Linked DNA regions of Homo sapiens: regions 1, 3, 4 and 5 are each linked to region 2. The links are contacts of gene promoters, found by promoter capture Hi-C in blood cells and fetal thymus (Javierre and others, 2016). All regions are on one chromosome and are shown on one strand. Each heading gives the region's core, a stretch centred on a gene start or on the middle of the fragment in contact. The rest is flanking DNA. Distances are from core to core; before and after follow the strand shown. Region 1 has its middle 19 kb from the start of ASAH2. Region 2 holds the start of SGMS1 (sphingomyelin synthase 1). Region 3 overlaps SGMS1 (sphingomyelin synthase 1). Region 4 overlaps SGMS1 (sphingomyelin synthase 1). Region 5 holds the start of ASAH2 (N-acylsphingosine amidohydrolase 2).

Evidence for each region. The method cuts DNA at HindIII sites, captures the fragments that hold promoters and counts their contacts. A CHiCAGO score of 5 or more calls a contact.
Region 1: a fragment that was not itself captured here is called in contact with the fragment with the promoter of SGMS1 in region 2 in 1 of 17 cell types (total B cells); the score reaches 5.7 in total B cells.
Region 3: a fragment that was not itself captured here is called in contact with the fragment with the promoter of SGMS1 in region 2 in 8 of 17 cell types (total B cells, monocytes, M0 macrophages and 5 more); the score reaches 10.4 in total B cells.
Region 4: a contact is called between a fragment that was not itself captured here and the fragment with the promoter of SGMS1 in region 2, in 4 of 17 cell types (monocytes, total B cells, M0 macrophages and 1 more). The highest score is 10.1, in monocytes.
Region 5: a contact is called between a fragment that was not itself captured here and the fragment with the promoter of SGMS1 in region 2, in 6 of 17 cell types (total B cells, naive B cells, M2 macrophages and 3 more). The highest score is 9.5, in total B cells.

The regions. Positions count from the first base shown.
Region 1 is chr10:50,268,992-50,271,691 of GRCh38, forward strand. No RefSeq gene overlaps it. Among named protein-coding and RNA genes, the nearest start is that of ASAH2, 19 kb to the left of the region's middle. The HindIII fragment of the contact is 3,266 bases long and covers 1-2,700 here.
Region 2 is chr10:50,622,627-50,625,326 of GRCh38, forward strand. It overlaps SGMS1 (sphingomyelin synthase 1), which reads right to left and starts at 1,330. Exons shown (of 11, transcript NM_147156.4): 1 at 1,081-1,330. SGMS1-AS1 (SGMS1 antisense RNA 1) reads left to right here and starts at 2,325. Exons shown (of 4, transcript NR_126411.1): 1 at 2,325-2,565. RefSeq lists enhancers at 88-487, 1,199-1,727 and silencers at 678-1,017, 1,278-1,537, 1,586-1,743, 1,868-2,497. The HindIII fragment of the contact is 12,791 bases long and covers 1-2,700 here.
Region 3 is chr10:50,362,045-50,364,744 of GRCh38, forward strand. All of the region lies in intron 6 of SGMS1 (sphingomyelin synthase 1), which reads right to left. Among named protein-coding and RNA genes, the nearest start is that of ASAH2, 110 kb to the left of the region's middle. RefSeq lists an enhancer at 848-917. The HindIII fragment of the contact is 9,892 bases long and covers 1-2,700 here.
Region 4 is chr10:50,341,258-50,343,957 of GRCh38, forward strand. SGMS1 (sphingomyelin synthase 1) reads right to left here. Exons shown (of 11, transcript NM_147156.4): 7 at 2,235-2,700. Among named protein-coding and RNA genes, the nearest start is that of ASAH2, 91 kb to the left of the region's middle. The HindIII fragment of the contact is 1,522 bases long and covers 547-2,068 here.
Region 5 is chr10:50,249,541-50,252,240 of GRCh38, forward strand. ASAH2 (N-acylsphingosine amidohydrolase 2) reads right to left here and starts at 1,976. Exons shown (of 21, transcript NM_019893.4): 1 at 1,855-1,976. RefSeq lists a silencer at 1,929-2,223. The HindIII fragment of the contact is 928 bases long and covers 836-1,763 here.

The DNA of each region.
Region 1 (2,700 bases), core at 33-2,532, 350 kb before region 2:
TTCCGGCCAGGGCAATCAGGCAGGAGAAGGAAATAAAGGGTATTCAATTAGGAAAAGAGGAAGTCAAATTGTCCCTGTTTGCAGATGACATGATTGTATACCTAGAAAACCCCATCATCTCAGCCCAAAATCTCCTTAAGCTGATAGGCAACTTCAGCAAAGTCTCAGGATACAAAATCAATGTGCAAAAATCACAAGCATTCTTATACACCAATAACAGACAAACAGAGAGCCAAATCATGAGTGAACTTCCATTCACAATTGCTTCAAAGAGAATAAAATACCTAGGAATCCAACTTACAAGGGATGTGAAGGACCTCTTCAAGGAGAACTACAAACCACTGCTCAATGAAATAAAAGAGGATACAAACAAATGGAAGAACATTCCATGCCCATGGGTAGGAAGAATCAACATTGTGAAAATGGCCATACTGCCCAAGGTAATTTATAGATTGAATGCCATCCCCATGAAGCTACCAATGACTTTCTTCACAGAATTGGAAAAAACTACTTTAAAGTTCATATGGAACAAAAAAAGAGCCCACATTGCCAAGTCAATCCTAAGCCAAAAGAACAAAGCTGGAGGCATCACGCTACCTGACTTCAAAGTATACTGCAAGGCTACAGTAACCAAAACAGCATGGTACTGGTACCAAAACAGAGATATAGATCAATGGAACAGAACAGAGCCCTCAAAAATAATGCCACATATCTACAACTATCTCATCTTTGACAAATCTGACAAAAACAAGAAATGGGGAAAGGATTCCCTATTTAATAAATGGTGCTGGGAAAATGGGCTAGCCATATGGAGAAAGCTGAAACTGTATCCCTTCCTTACACCTTATACAAAAATTAATTCAAGATGGATTAAAGACTTAAATGTTAGACCTAAAACCGTAAAAACCCTAGAAGAAAACCTAGGCAATACCAGTCAGGACATAGGCATGGGCAAGGACTTCATGTCTAAAACACCAAAAGCAATGGCAACAGAAGCCAAAATTGACAAATGGGATCTAATTAAACTAAAGAGCTTGTGGACAGCAAGAGAAACTACCATCAGAGTGAACAGGCAACCTACAGAGTGGGAGAAAATTTTTGCAATCTACTCATCTGACAAAGGGCTAATATCCAGAATCTACAAAGAACACAAACAAATTTACAAGAAAAAAAAAAACCCATCAACAAGTGGGCGAAGGATATGAACAGACACTTCTCAAAAGAAGACATTTATGCAGCCAAAAGACACATGAAAAAATGCTCATCATCACTGACCATCAGAGAAATGCAAATCAAAACCACAATGAGATACCATCTCACACCAGTTAGAATGGAGATCATTAAAAAGTCAGGAAACAACAGGTGCTGGAGAGGATGTGGAGAAATAGGAACACTTTTACACTGTTGGTGGGACTGTAAACTAGTTCAACCATTGTGGAAGTCAGTGTGGCAATTCCTCAGGGATCTAGAACTAGAAATACCATTTGACCCAGCAATCCCATTACTGGGTATGTACCCACAGGATTATAAATCATGCTGCTATAAAGAGACACGCACACATATGTTTATTGTGGCACTATTCACAATAGCAGAGACTTGGAACCAACCCAAATGTCCAAAAATGATAGACTGGATTAAGAAAATGTGGCACATATACACCATGGACTACTATGCAGCCATAAAAAATGATGAGTTCATGTCCTTTGTAGGGACATGGATGAAGCTGGAAACCATCATTCTCAGCAAACTATCGCAAGGACAAAAAACCAAACACCACATGTTCTTACTCATAGGTGGGAATTGAACAATGAGAACACATGGACACAGGAAGGGGAATATCACACACCAGGGCCTGTTGTGGGTTGGTGGGGAGGGATAGCATTAGGAGATATACCTAATGTTAAATGACAAGTTATTGGGTGCAGCACACCAACGTGGCACATGTATACATATGTAACAAACCTGCACGTTGGGCGCATGTATCCTTAAACTTAAAGTATAATAAAAAAAAATTAAACATAAAAAAAAGAGAACAGCACAGATGTGATGATCAATAACAATGGGTGTGGATGAGACAATAGGAACCCCTGCCAGACTGTCACAGTCAGAAAATATGTGCCCCATCTAAAGGGAACTGTCACTACTCATTGGTGCCATGAGAAAATGCAGGCCCAATGTTGACGGATCCTCCCATTTCTTTTAATGACAAGTCAGTAATGCAGGTGTTTATCTCAAATTTCTTGATTTTCAAATGTCGGCCAACAATTCCTAAAAAAGAAACCCAAACATGTTTATCGCTCTTCAGATCAACACTATGCAGGACAAAATGAAAATAGGTTGTCCACAAGTTGCAACCTCTGATTTAATCCATTCTTTCATTCACAAATACTTTCCGAGCATCTATGGAGTACCAGACACTGTGCTAGAACAAAAGGATACAATTCATAAGATGAAGTTCCTGCCCTAAAAATATTACAATCAAATGTCAAAATAGAGATGATGTCCAAGTAATTACAGTATTGAACTGTGAGTACCTCTGGGGTATGTAAGAGGAAACCCTAACCCAGACTTGAAGAGGATCAGAAATAGCTTTGACAGGTGGAGATCAGAAAGGTAGCTGTTAACTTAGTGCAACTCTGGCTGCATAACAAACCACCCCAAAACGTAATAGTTTAAAATAACAACAATGTGTTATCTCAT
Region 2 (2,700 bases), core at 80-2,579:
CTTGGTTTCGTAAGCGTGTACCGCTGAAGTCTGTACTGTTTGAAGGTGAAAAGAAACATCTGAGAAGCACCTGCCTGGATTCTCTTCGCTCCCTCCGGCCATGACAACCCTTATCCCGATTTCTACTTCGCGGCACCAAAGAGGAAAGCAGCATTCACCAGAACGCTCCAGGCTGAATCCGTTAGCTGGACTAGGGCACTCTATCCGGCCCACGGGAGGACGCCACAAGCCCGAGTTCGGGTTAAGACGGTGGGAGAGGCAGCCGCTGCTGCTGCTGTTTTGCCCTTGACACGTCGCTGGGGGATAGCGCAGACCCCCTCTGTCACGGAAAAGCGGCGTCCTGGAGAGACTGTCCAGTTCTGGGCTGCGCCGATTCCCCTCCAGGCCTTGCCCCTAAACGTCCCCGCCCCGCGGGGGCAGCCCTGCGGGGTCTCAGAGCCGCCCGCGAGCCTGGCGGGCTGTTACGCGGCCTGGAGAGAAGGGGAGCGCTCCTCGGGGAGGGGGGGTCCCACCTGTTTTGTCGTCAGGGGGCATCGAGGGGCTACGGTGGGGGGATCCCGAAATAGTGGGCGCCTGGCCGGCTGCGATCTGGACCGAAGGTACCAACTGTCACACCGCCACCTAGGCTGTGGGGGTGGAGCCGTGATTGGAGTCGGCCCCTGGGTGGGGGTCTCCGGACCCCGGGCGGGCTACTGCCCAAAGGCTCCCCGCCTCCCGATCGCCCCAATCCGACACCAGGCAGCCTTCCAGCCCGCACGCAGTAGCTCTGAAAAGGTGCCCACTGACGCCTCCTCCTTCCTCCCCGCCCCAACTTAGCCGGGGAGCCCCGCCGGCGGCCCGCCCCCTCCGAGCCCGGATCCCGGCCGCCGGACCTCCCCGCTGTGACCACCCACGGGAGCAGCAGCTCTGGAGGACTGCCCGCCAGGTACGCGCGCGGCACCGCGCGGGCTGCGCTCACGCCCCCTCGCCCCAGAGCAGCCCGCCCGCTGCTCCCCGGCATAAGGCCGGGCCCGCGAGACAGGTGTCCGATCGGCCCCCGCAACCGTGAGGCCGGCTGTCTGTCCCTGCCCCACGACTCACTTGCACTGGAGTCACGGCAGCCGCCGGAATTCCGCTCGCGGAGCCCCCGCCGCGGAATGAAATCCGGGGCAGGGCAGCGTCGGGGCTCCGCACCCCAATCGCGCTCTCCGACCGGCTCCCTAGGCGCGAGGGGAGAGCAGTCAGCCCAGGCCGGTCCTTCTCACTCCCGACCTGCCCGCCGCCTGCCGCCCGCAGCCGCTGCCCCGCTGGTGCGAACGCTTTCGACTTGCCACCGCGAGCCTCCCGGGCTGCCGAGCATGCCCAGTCCGCTGCCCGAGCCGGCCCGGCTTCCCGCGCGACGCGACTCCGCTCCTCCGGGTGTTCACTGCGGCCGGGGGGGCGGGCCGGCCGGGCGGGGTCCGCGGGGGGCTCCTCCCGGGACCGAGCGGGACCCCGAACCAAGGGACAGTCGCAGTTTGGGCCCCTTGAATTTTACTTTCAAGTAATGGGAAACTGAGGAGGCGGGCGCTTTCCCCAGCGTTTTTAGGGGCCCACTAAGTAAGGCCTAGCGGGAGCCAGATTTTACAATCTGGGACGGTAAATCCCTTGGGGCAGGGCCGGAGACGGGAGCCGCTAGAGCTGGTCACAAAGCAGGGAACGCAAACTCAGCCTGCTGGAAGCCAGGCACGAGTTTGCGAACTACTACTGGATTCTTTTTCCCACCAAGCCCAAGGGCTGCGACACTTGGGATTAATGCCCAATGGATCATTCCTAGGAAACGGCCGACCTGACTATTCGGCCCATTTTCAAACCTCTAACCATAGACTCTCATCTTTCTCCCACAACAGAAAAAAAAAGCCTCTGGCGACGCCTGGGAGCGCGACGGAGGCGCAAGAGCTCTAACCGCGCGAGGTGAAAACTCCGACTGCGTCAGAGCCGCCCCGCCCCGCCTGGGGCCCACCTTCCGCCGCCCCTCCGAGCTGCGGCGAAAACCCGGAGAGCGGCTAGGCCGGGGTCGGAGCCCGCGCATGCCCAGTAGCCCCACGTGGTGCAAGTCGCCTGAAGGAAGGTTTTCCTCTGCTCCCCGAGCGAAGCCCCAGCGCCCAAGTTAGGATGGACAGCGGGGAGAGCTGGCCTTCCCGCCCCGATGCCCGCCGTCCCTGGCCGGCCCGCGCCGCACCTCGGTGGCCTACAGGCAGCCCGAGGCCGTGCCTCCCGCGGGGTCGGGGACTTGGCGAGCGGGGGAAGGGGCGCGGCTACGGGCCCGGCGTACCACGTGACTGTCCGCGGCGCTCCGGGCAGCCATCTTCCGCCCGGCCATCGGGCCGCGGGCGCTCGGAACCGACCTGGGAGCTGGCGGGACCGTCCTCCCCCGCCACGCCCTCCCATCGGGCTTTGGGCGCCGGACTCTGGCCACCGCTCGGCACCTGCCTCCGCCTCGCCTTGGGGTATAGGAGTCCTGTACCGACCCCTGGCTTGCCCAGAGGACAGGTTCTCGCCCGGGCCAGAAGCAAACTGCGGCGAAATCGAGACAACAGAACTCAGGTGGCGGAGGGTCCCCGCTTTTCCCCAGAGGCGGAAGTTGGCGAGGGAGTCCTCTTCCGTTATCCAGCGAGAGCGCTGCTCTGGCTGCCTCCCGGTTCTAACCTAGTCCCTGCAGAGGAGTGATGTACCGGCAGG
Region 3 (2,700 bases), core at 21-2,520, 260 kb before region 2:
AATCTCTAGAGCCTAATGCATAGTACACACTTAATAGATGTTTCCTGAATACCTAATTAAATGAGAATGCAAAGGAGATGACTTATGGTTCCAGAACATGGACCCAGTGATGCGTATCTCCTTTATATATCAAGCACATAAAAATCTACATAAAATATAACTGCTGACATTTTAATACCATAATCAGTTTCAAAATAAAGAAAAAGAATTTCTCATGTGTCAAAAGAAGAAAAATCTCAAATTCAGAGTAGAAAAGATACAAGTTAACACTTATATCCCACAGGGATATCAGACTTGGACTCTAGCTGCTAGGGGTTGGGGACTTAAGATCCCAGCCAGGGCAGAGGACTGAAACTTAGACCTTGAATAAAGCAAGAATCTCTCTAAGACCAGAAAAACTGGATCCATGAAACTGACACACAATGATACAGAGTCCAGATTTATACTATCTGCGTAGTGTGAAATTTCCAAGCCAAGAAATTAAGGTAAATATAAAAGAAAAATAAATATAAATAGCTCCTTAAAGGCGCTTCAAAAAGCAATGGTTCATAGGACTCCCATGGAAAAAGTAATCTTTGCTGAGGATGAGCAAATAATTGAAAATTATGAATCACACAAGGAAATGATCCACCATGAGGGAGATTTGCCAGGTGTGACAAACAGGAAGTTTACCAAACCATGAATTTGATCATATAAAACAGGTTTGAAGAGGCTATGAAATAAAGAATTGAAACCACAATGTAAAAACAAGACATGATTTTTTTCTTAAAGATAGATGTGTTTAAAGAAGGTACGGAGAAACCCTAGGTTCTCTCCTCTGGCCTGTGACCCACTGATACTTCAGGAGGAAAGAAGAGAGAGCAACATGTTAAAAGCAGATCAAAAGAGGAAGTGAAATCAGCAAAAAAATAAAGTATATAAATATAAAGACAACTGACAAATTTTGTCAAGCCCCAAGGATCTCAACAATCTAGCACCCACATCTTTTTTGGGGGGTGAAAAGGGAAATAAAAAACTGAATCCAGTTAATTGAAAGATGAATCAGATTTCCAAAAAGGTATTTCACTGGACATATACATTCTATCTCACTGTCTCCAAAAACTCCTCTGAAATGGTAGTAAAAAGATTTTCTTTTTTAAAAAAAGGGACAAGAAATCAAAACAGTCGAAGAGAACAGAAGAGAAGAGAACAGAAGAGGAGAAAACAGGGACACGATTTCGGAAGTTGGGAAGCACATGAATCAGTGGTGACGGATCTGGCAGGCCCAAAACAAGGAGCCCTAAGCCAGCAAAGGGGAAAGAAGCATTCTGATTTACATAACACTAAATATTTCCTCTAGCCTTAAAAGTATGAGGAATTGGTGGCATCAAGTACCTTGGAAATGGTGTGAAAGTGGAGTTAAAAGACCACTTAATAAGTTTCTCTAGATTCTCACTTTGTACAGCTGAGCAACTGCCTCTTCCCCACACCATAGAATACTGAAGTTTATCCTCTGGAAAAGAGACATGGAGAGTTTCTAGAGTAGTGGACATTAAACACAGTTGAAAGCAGTGGTATCTGACTAAAAACAAGGGACAAAGTGAAAGTTGCAAAAAGATTAAGTAGGATCTGCCCTTGCCTTTTACCTTCTTAGGCACCCAGAATAACTTGCAGGTTAATGATCAGATGAATTTTTTTCTAGAAATACCCAAGATTTTAAGAAAAAAGACTTAAGGATACTGATCATCTTACACTGAAACCATATAAACAAGCTCACCTCATGCAAAGAGTTTCCAAACAGTTTTATTTGTGCCTACTTTAAAATATGAAAAAAAATCACCAGGTATCTGAAGAAACTCTCTAATAAATATAAAAGCCAGAGATGAAGATAAAAAACAAACAAACTAAAAGAACTTGGAAAACAGACTATGAAAAACTATTACTAACATTTTCAAAGACATAAGGTATCAAAAAAGAACAAGATGGTACCACAAAAAGGAGAGAGAATTTTAAAAAGAGAGCTCCTGTAAATTCCTAGTCAATATGAACAATTCAATAGGAACAATAGAAAAAGTTGAAAAAAAATTTCAGATGTGAAACAAAATGAAAGATGGAAAATTGAGAGAAGAGAATAATAAAAAAGCAATCTAGAAGCCCAAGATCTGAATAGCAGGAGTTCAAGAAAATCCAAGAAAAAAACAAACAAAGATTTAGAAATATTTTAAATCTAAAAAGAGAAAATTTAAAAAAATTATCAGAACTAAAGGAGACATGAGTTGGCAGACTGAAAGTTCATCAAATGTCCAAAAACAATGGCTGAAAGTACACTTTCTGTTATTACCATTCCACACTAATTAATTTTTTTAAAAAGGATAAGAAGATCTTGAAGAATGCTCCAGCCCCATCCTGCTTTTCACTTTCTGGTTGTACTTCCCTCCATCTCACCCCAACCAGAAGGGCTAGTCTCCATCCTTGACCTTCCTTATTAGGACTTTTGTCCCTAACCAGAAGAGCTACTGAGGACCTAAAGCACAAGGACAATGTTCCTGATATCCAAAAGTAGAGTTTTGATTGTACTTCCAATCACAACCTTGTAATGGGCAATAGTGCCTCCTTAACACTAAAGAAGTGATGAGAACAATAACACCATAAACTTTACATACATGTTATGTAAAATAATCGTTCCCTCCAGCTTTTCTAAGGCAATTCAGATTTCAAACA
Region 4 (2,700 bases), core at 58-2,557, 280 kb before region 2:
ACTGCTTGATGTGTCATCTGTATCTTTCTTCCTACCTCCTACCTGTCTGGTGGGCCAGATACACTGAAGAGAGGTCACAGGGAGAGAGACAGGAAACCAGCGATGGACCCCAGTAGAAGGACAGGGTGGACGATGCTTAGGAAGATCATGACGACTCTGCTTTCATTTCCCACATCCCTATCCCGCCAGAGGTGAAAATCAGAGAGGACTTAGTTGGATGCATTCTGGACACAAACGCTCTGAAGCTAATAAAATTCAATATAATTGGCCCATCCAATTATGTTAGAATCTAATAAAATGTAGTTGTATATATATATGACAACAGAAATCATCTAGACTGAGACGTCATTATTCCGTTTGTGAGAAAAACGAGGCTCCTGAGATGTAAGGATCCACCCAAACCACTCAGCAAGTTGGACACACCTGAGGCCTCATTCCAGCACTGAGTTAATTTTGTCAAATCAACTGGTTTCTTGCTTTGAGCAATTTAAATATATAAATGACTACAGTATTGTCAATAAGTACCAGGAAAACGCAAAATCATAAAGCTTAAAGAGAAATAGATTTGAGGAAAATTTCCTGTTGGGAAAATTGTAATTATTAATATACTTTAAGAAAATTAGTTTTATGGTTAAGAGGATACTTTATAAGAATAAAATTACTTAAAAGTCACAGTTCTGTGAAAGATTCTGATTCGTAACTGTTAAGACTTACTCAAAGTTATATTGTGGGGTAGTAAATTATTTGCCTGAATTTAAAAATTTTGATGAAAAACCGGAAAAGGAGCAAACTTACAAAAACAAAACAACAAATATCAGGGAAAACTCAGGAAGCATAATTTGAGTTGACCTTGCCTTTGTACAGTACTGGTATTTTGTTCCAGTGGGATTTTAGGAAAAAAGTTTAAAAGTCAAAAAGGCAAAAGCAGAACTAAAGTTTGGCAGCAAAAATAATGCATTTAATAAACTCCAAGTATCTTGTATTTCTAAAGCCTATTCCTATTTATTAGCCTCTTAAAACCAAAGGAACAGAAAAAAACGTCTTCCACCAAATTAAATGCAGCCCAGACCAACAATTCTATTTCAGATTCAGCTTAAACTCTAGGACTGTCAAACCATCTGTAAATAAACACTGATCAGTTAAATGGCTTTCTTTATACCAGTTAAGACCGTCCATCCCTGGGAAAGTGTCAGGAACTGCTTTTATTTCAATTTGTAGATATATAATTTATCAGGTTAAAAAAAAGAGTTGTTATAAAACATACTAGGAAAAACCTTATCATTTCTGTCAAAGAACATTCAGCATGAACTCTCAGTGTGCATTTTGTTTTCTTGCTGTAAGATGAATTCCTTAATATTTAACCACATGGTGGATCATGAAACACACTCCACTGGAGAGAAACTCAGCTCTTTAACAAACCAATTTCCAACCCTCATTCATGGAAACCATAAGGCGTTCCTTTAACTAAGGAGAAAATCAAACATCAGTGAAGGGACAATGTAGGCAACCCCAGTAAACAGCCAGTCTGAGGGGGTCCATGTTGAGTTTAGAGCTTCAGATATGAAAGCCACCTTGGATACACCTGGAACTAAGTGGGAGTTGCCTACTTAAAACTCTGAGAAATTTGAATGCAACAGTCACATATTGTTTTAAGTAGTAGTAGTAGAAGGTGGGAATCCATTCAGGTCCATCCACTTCCCACCTACCCAAAGGCATACCCTTTGGTATTGTTTTCCCAACAACCCAAGCCACTCTGGAACAGGTGTTCTGAATTCTGTGTGAAACATCTTTAAATACATATTGCTAAGGCTCTAGATGTCTGACTCTGTGTGGGAAAAGCTATGCAGCCAATTTATAGTGCTTAGGCCAACTGTCGATTTATTTAATGGGTTAGTAACACCAACCAAGACTAGGTGGTTGATCTGTTGTTCAATAGCCTGTACTGTCTGAAGATGTCTGAGAGTTTTCTTTCTTATTAAGTGAAAACAGAGCATCATCTCTAACCATCTTATTCATCATCCTGTATGAATCTTGCATAAAACAGGCAACAAACAACATTTTCTTTTAAAGCTTCCAGACAGTAAGTTAGTCCAACAGGGTATGTGTTTAAAAAAGAAAAAAAAATAGTATGTTTTGATCCCAACAAGTTGATAAATTTCATTTATAAATAATAAGTAGATGTTTGGAGTGCAAATCCCATAATCATTGAATCTTAGAGCTTTTACTTGACTTACTTGTATTTTAAGAGCAGCCACTGAATTAACCAGAGTCCTACAAGGATCATGCCATTAATTTCACAAATAGAAAAGGCCCACTGCACCCGGTTAAAATGGTCAAAAAATGTGTCCGGTAGTGGAGGCTGCACCTCCTTAGGAGGTACTCGTTCGTGGACGACCGAGATCATCACTGTGGTGAGAACGAAACAGGAAAGTGCATAAAGAAAGGCCAGAAAAGTCTTGCCCCACTCCATGGGGTACTGAGAGCGCTCCAGTTCTGGCATGGGGATCTTTATCATCTCTTTCCTATACCCATTTGGCATCCCGTTGGGTTTAATCTTGATGCTGAAGCTGCCGTCGGGGGTGGGGATGTCTACGCCAATGTTGAGGTGCCCATTGGCATGGCCGTTCTTGTGTGCTTCCAAATGGTGCTCCATTTTCAGGGTTTCTATCATGTCCAGGAGCCGCTGCCCATTGTCAGAGG
Region 5 (2,700 bases), core at 50-2,549, 370 kb before region 2:
GAAATCCTCCCCCAATACTGAACATCAGCTTCACCATCTATAAATAGGAATATGATTATGATCATCTTATCTCAAAGTTCTTATAAAACCTATCTCATAAATTTCTTATAAAAATAAGATGAGATGAAGCAACAGTACTTCTTTTGTTCAATAAATGCTCAAACTGGTAGCATTTTTTAATAGATTCCAAAGTAGCAAAGAGTCTGTGCTCTTCCCTGTCCTTTAAGGGAATTTACAGGAGGCTAGTGTTAAAGGATGATTGGAATCACAGGTGGGACCTTCAGAGCCCATTTTCTTAACCTGTGCTTTAGGAAGCCTGAGAGGTGAAATGGTATTGGAATCCCAGGATTTGCCCCCAAAATAGGGGATTTGTGGCTAAGATGCTGCTACCCCCAAGAGTTAATAAATGGCAACAATGTAGATGTATTTAGTACAGTCAATTTTTTATTCAATTTGACTTAGGTAACAAGATATAAAAAAATAGCATTCAGAGTTTATAAAGAGTTTACATTTACAATCCTGAAATTTCAAATTATCTCCTAAAATAATTCGTAAAATATGATGACACTGAGCCAGCATTCCCGTGTGCCAAGAGTTTCCTAAAACTCAGTGCTGTTGTTCTCTTTAGATGGGGGATATATTCTTCAACCTGCCAATCTCTACCCAGCAGGCCTTATTTATCTAAGTTACTACCTGGTCTGTGCAAGCATTTGATTTTGCAATTCCTGGGCTAGAGGTGAAAGATCAGTCTAACAGCAGACACTTCAGAGGGTAGGCTGAACTGGGAGTGGGCAAAGAGACTGGAACATCTTCCCAAATTTTCTGGTTATTGGGAAGCTTTCCTCATCCACTTATCACCACCATAATGCCCTTAACCACCAGCAGCAGGGACAACTTCAAATGTGGAGCAAAACAAGTCAGATCTGTGACTTATGATCAACTTCTATTGTCAGTTTCCAGGAGTCAGGAAACACATCTAAGACATGCCTCTGAACTCTAAGGATCTACAGATAATTACTACTCATTAGCAGCTGTTTCACCAGCAAACTTCAAACCCAGTATCTCTAGTTTTTGCTCAGGGCTTTGGTTCTCTAAGCCTTCCTACTAGCCAAGATGACTGACAGCTGGACCTCCCAACCCCAGAGCATGGACAGGCAGATTGTGTATGTAAATGTGGTCATGTGTTAGAAGCCTGTGTATCAAACAGAGAGGGTACAAAATAATACTTCTTTTTTGTTTCTAGTTTTGCGTTGGTGAGCTGATGATATTTTATGCCACTCAACAATGGCACTTGATTTAACATTAGTGTTTCCACCTATTACGTGGACTTGAATGATCTACCTCATGTGTTTCATCATTCTGTTTAGCTGCCAGAATTGTTGCCAACACAGTAACATTCTTTTTGAACCACTTTAGCTAACTTGACCACCACCTTTAAGGAACTTAAAACTTGGGTTAGCACTATTTATTTCTCATTGGTGATTAAAATCTGAATTTGAATGTTAAAGCAGATGCCTTCCCTGCCTTTAGAATGAAACACTCCTTGGTAGAGCTAAGCCAATAATTATATCTTAAAGGATTCTAGATTTTATAATGGTTCACACTTAATCTGTAATAATCCTGAAAACTCAGTAATGAGGCTCTCATGGCACAATAGCAAGCCGTTTGCCACATCTTCACATAACGGGGTCCCTGTTTTTCAAGGAGAGAGTAAAAGGTAACAATTTGGCAAAAGAGGGTTCCAAAGCTATGAGATAAATTGAAGCTTTAGGGTCTCTTCAAGATCTCTGAGACAATAGGATAATTCAAGAGCCCTCCTTCCCTCCTTCCCCAAGAAAACATAGCTGTCCTTACCTGATTCTAGTACTCAAAAGAGGTTTTGCATCCCAGTGAAGCAAATGGCCATCCAGAATCCTGTCCCCTTTCCCCTTGCACGTTGCTGGGCTTACACCTCTCAGCACTTTCTGAAACCTACTGAGAAAAATTTTCAGTCAAGTCCAGGAGTGTTAGAGCTCTCATTAGCATACCTTTGTGGGCTTGGTACAAGTATGAGATTAAAGAGTATTGATAACAAAAGGCTTATACATGAACTCTCTCTTAGGGCAGACTGTTATCAAAGATAGAAGTTGCAGAAGGCCTGCTGGACTGAAGGTCATTTCACTTTTTCTGTAACTTTTCCAGCATGACAAGTTCTGTGCAAAGCTTATAACCTGAATCACAAAAAAACAAAACAAAACAAAAAAAACACCTACTTCATTTAACACTGGTCGTTCTACAGCAAAGAGATTAGTAATATATGCTGGACATCAGTGTGGGCTGTGGATAGCAATGGGCAATATTTCCACCAATTTCAGAACAGAAAACTAATCAATTTTTATGAGTGCTCATAAAAAGAATGCAAAATTTTAGATTTACTAAATGTGAGTAGTAACTAATACAGCAAGACTGCTATGCAACTATTAAAAATCACACTGAAAATAATTTAATGACATGCAAAAATTGCCAAATATTAAGTAATTTTAAGTTTATAAAACAATACGATCCCATTTGTAAACATTACATATGTTTACTTTATATACATCATATACTTTATATATATTACATATTAAAGACTGTAAGTACAGGAAAATGTTAAGAGGTAATTATCTGGTGATTATGGGTGGTTTTGTTTTCATTGTTTTGTCTCTTGGTATTTTCTAT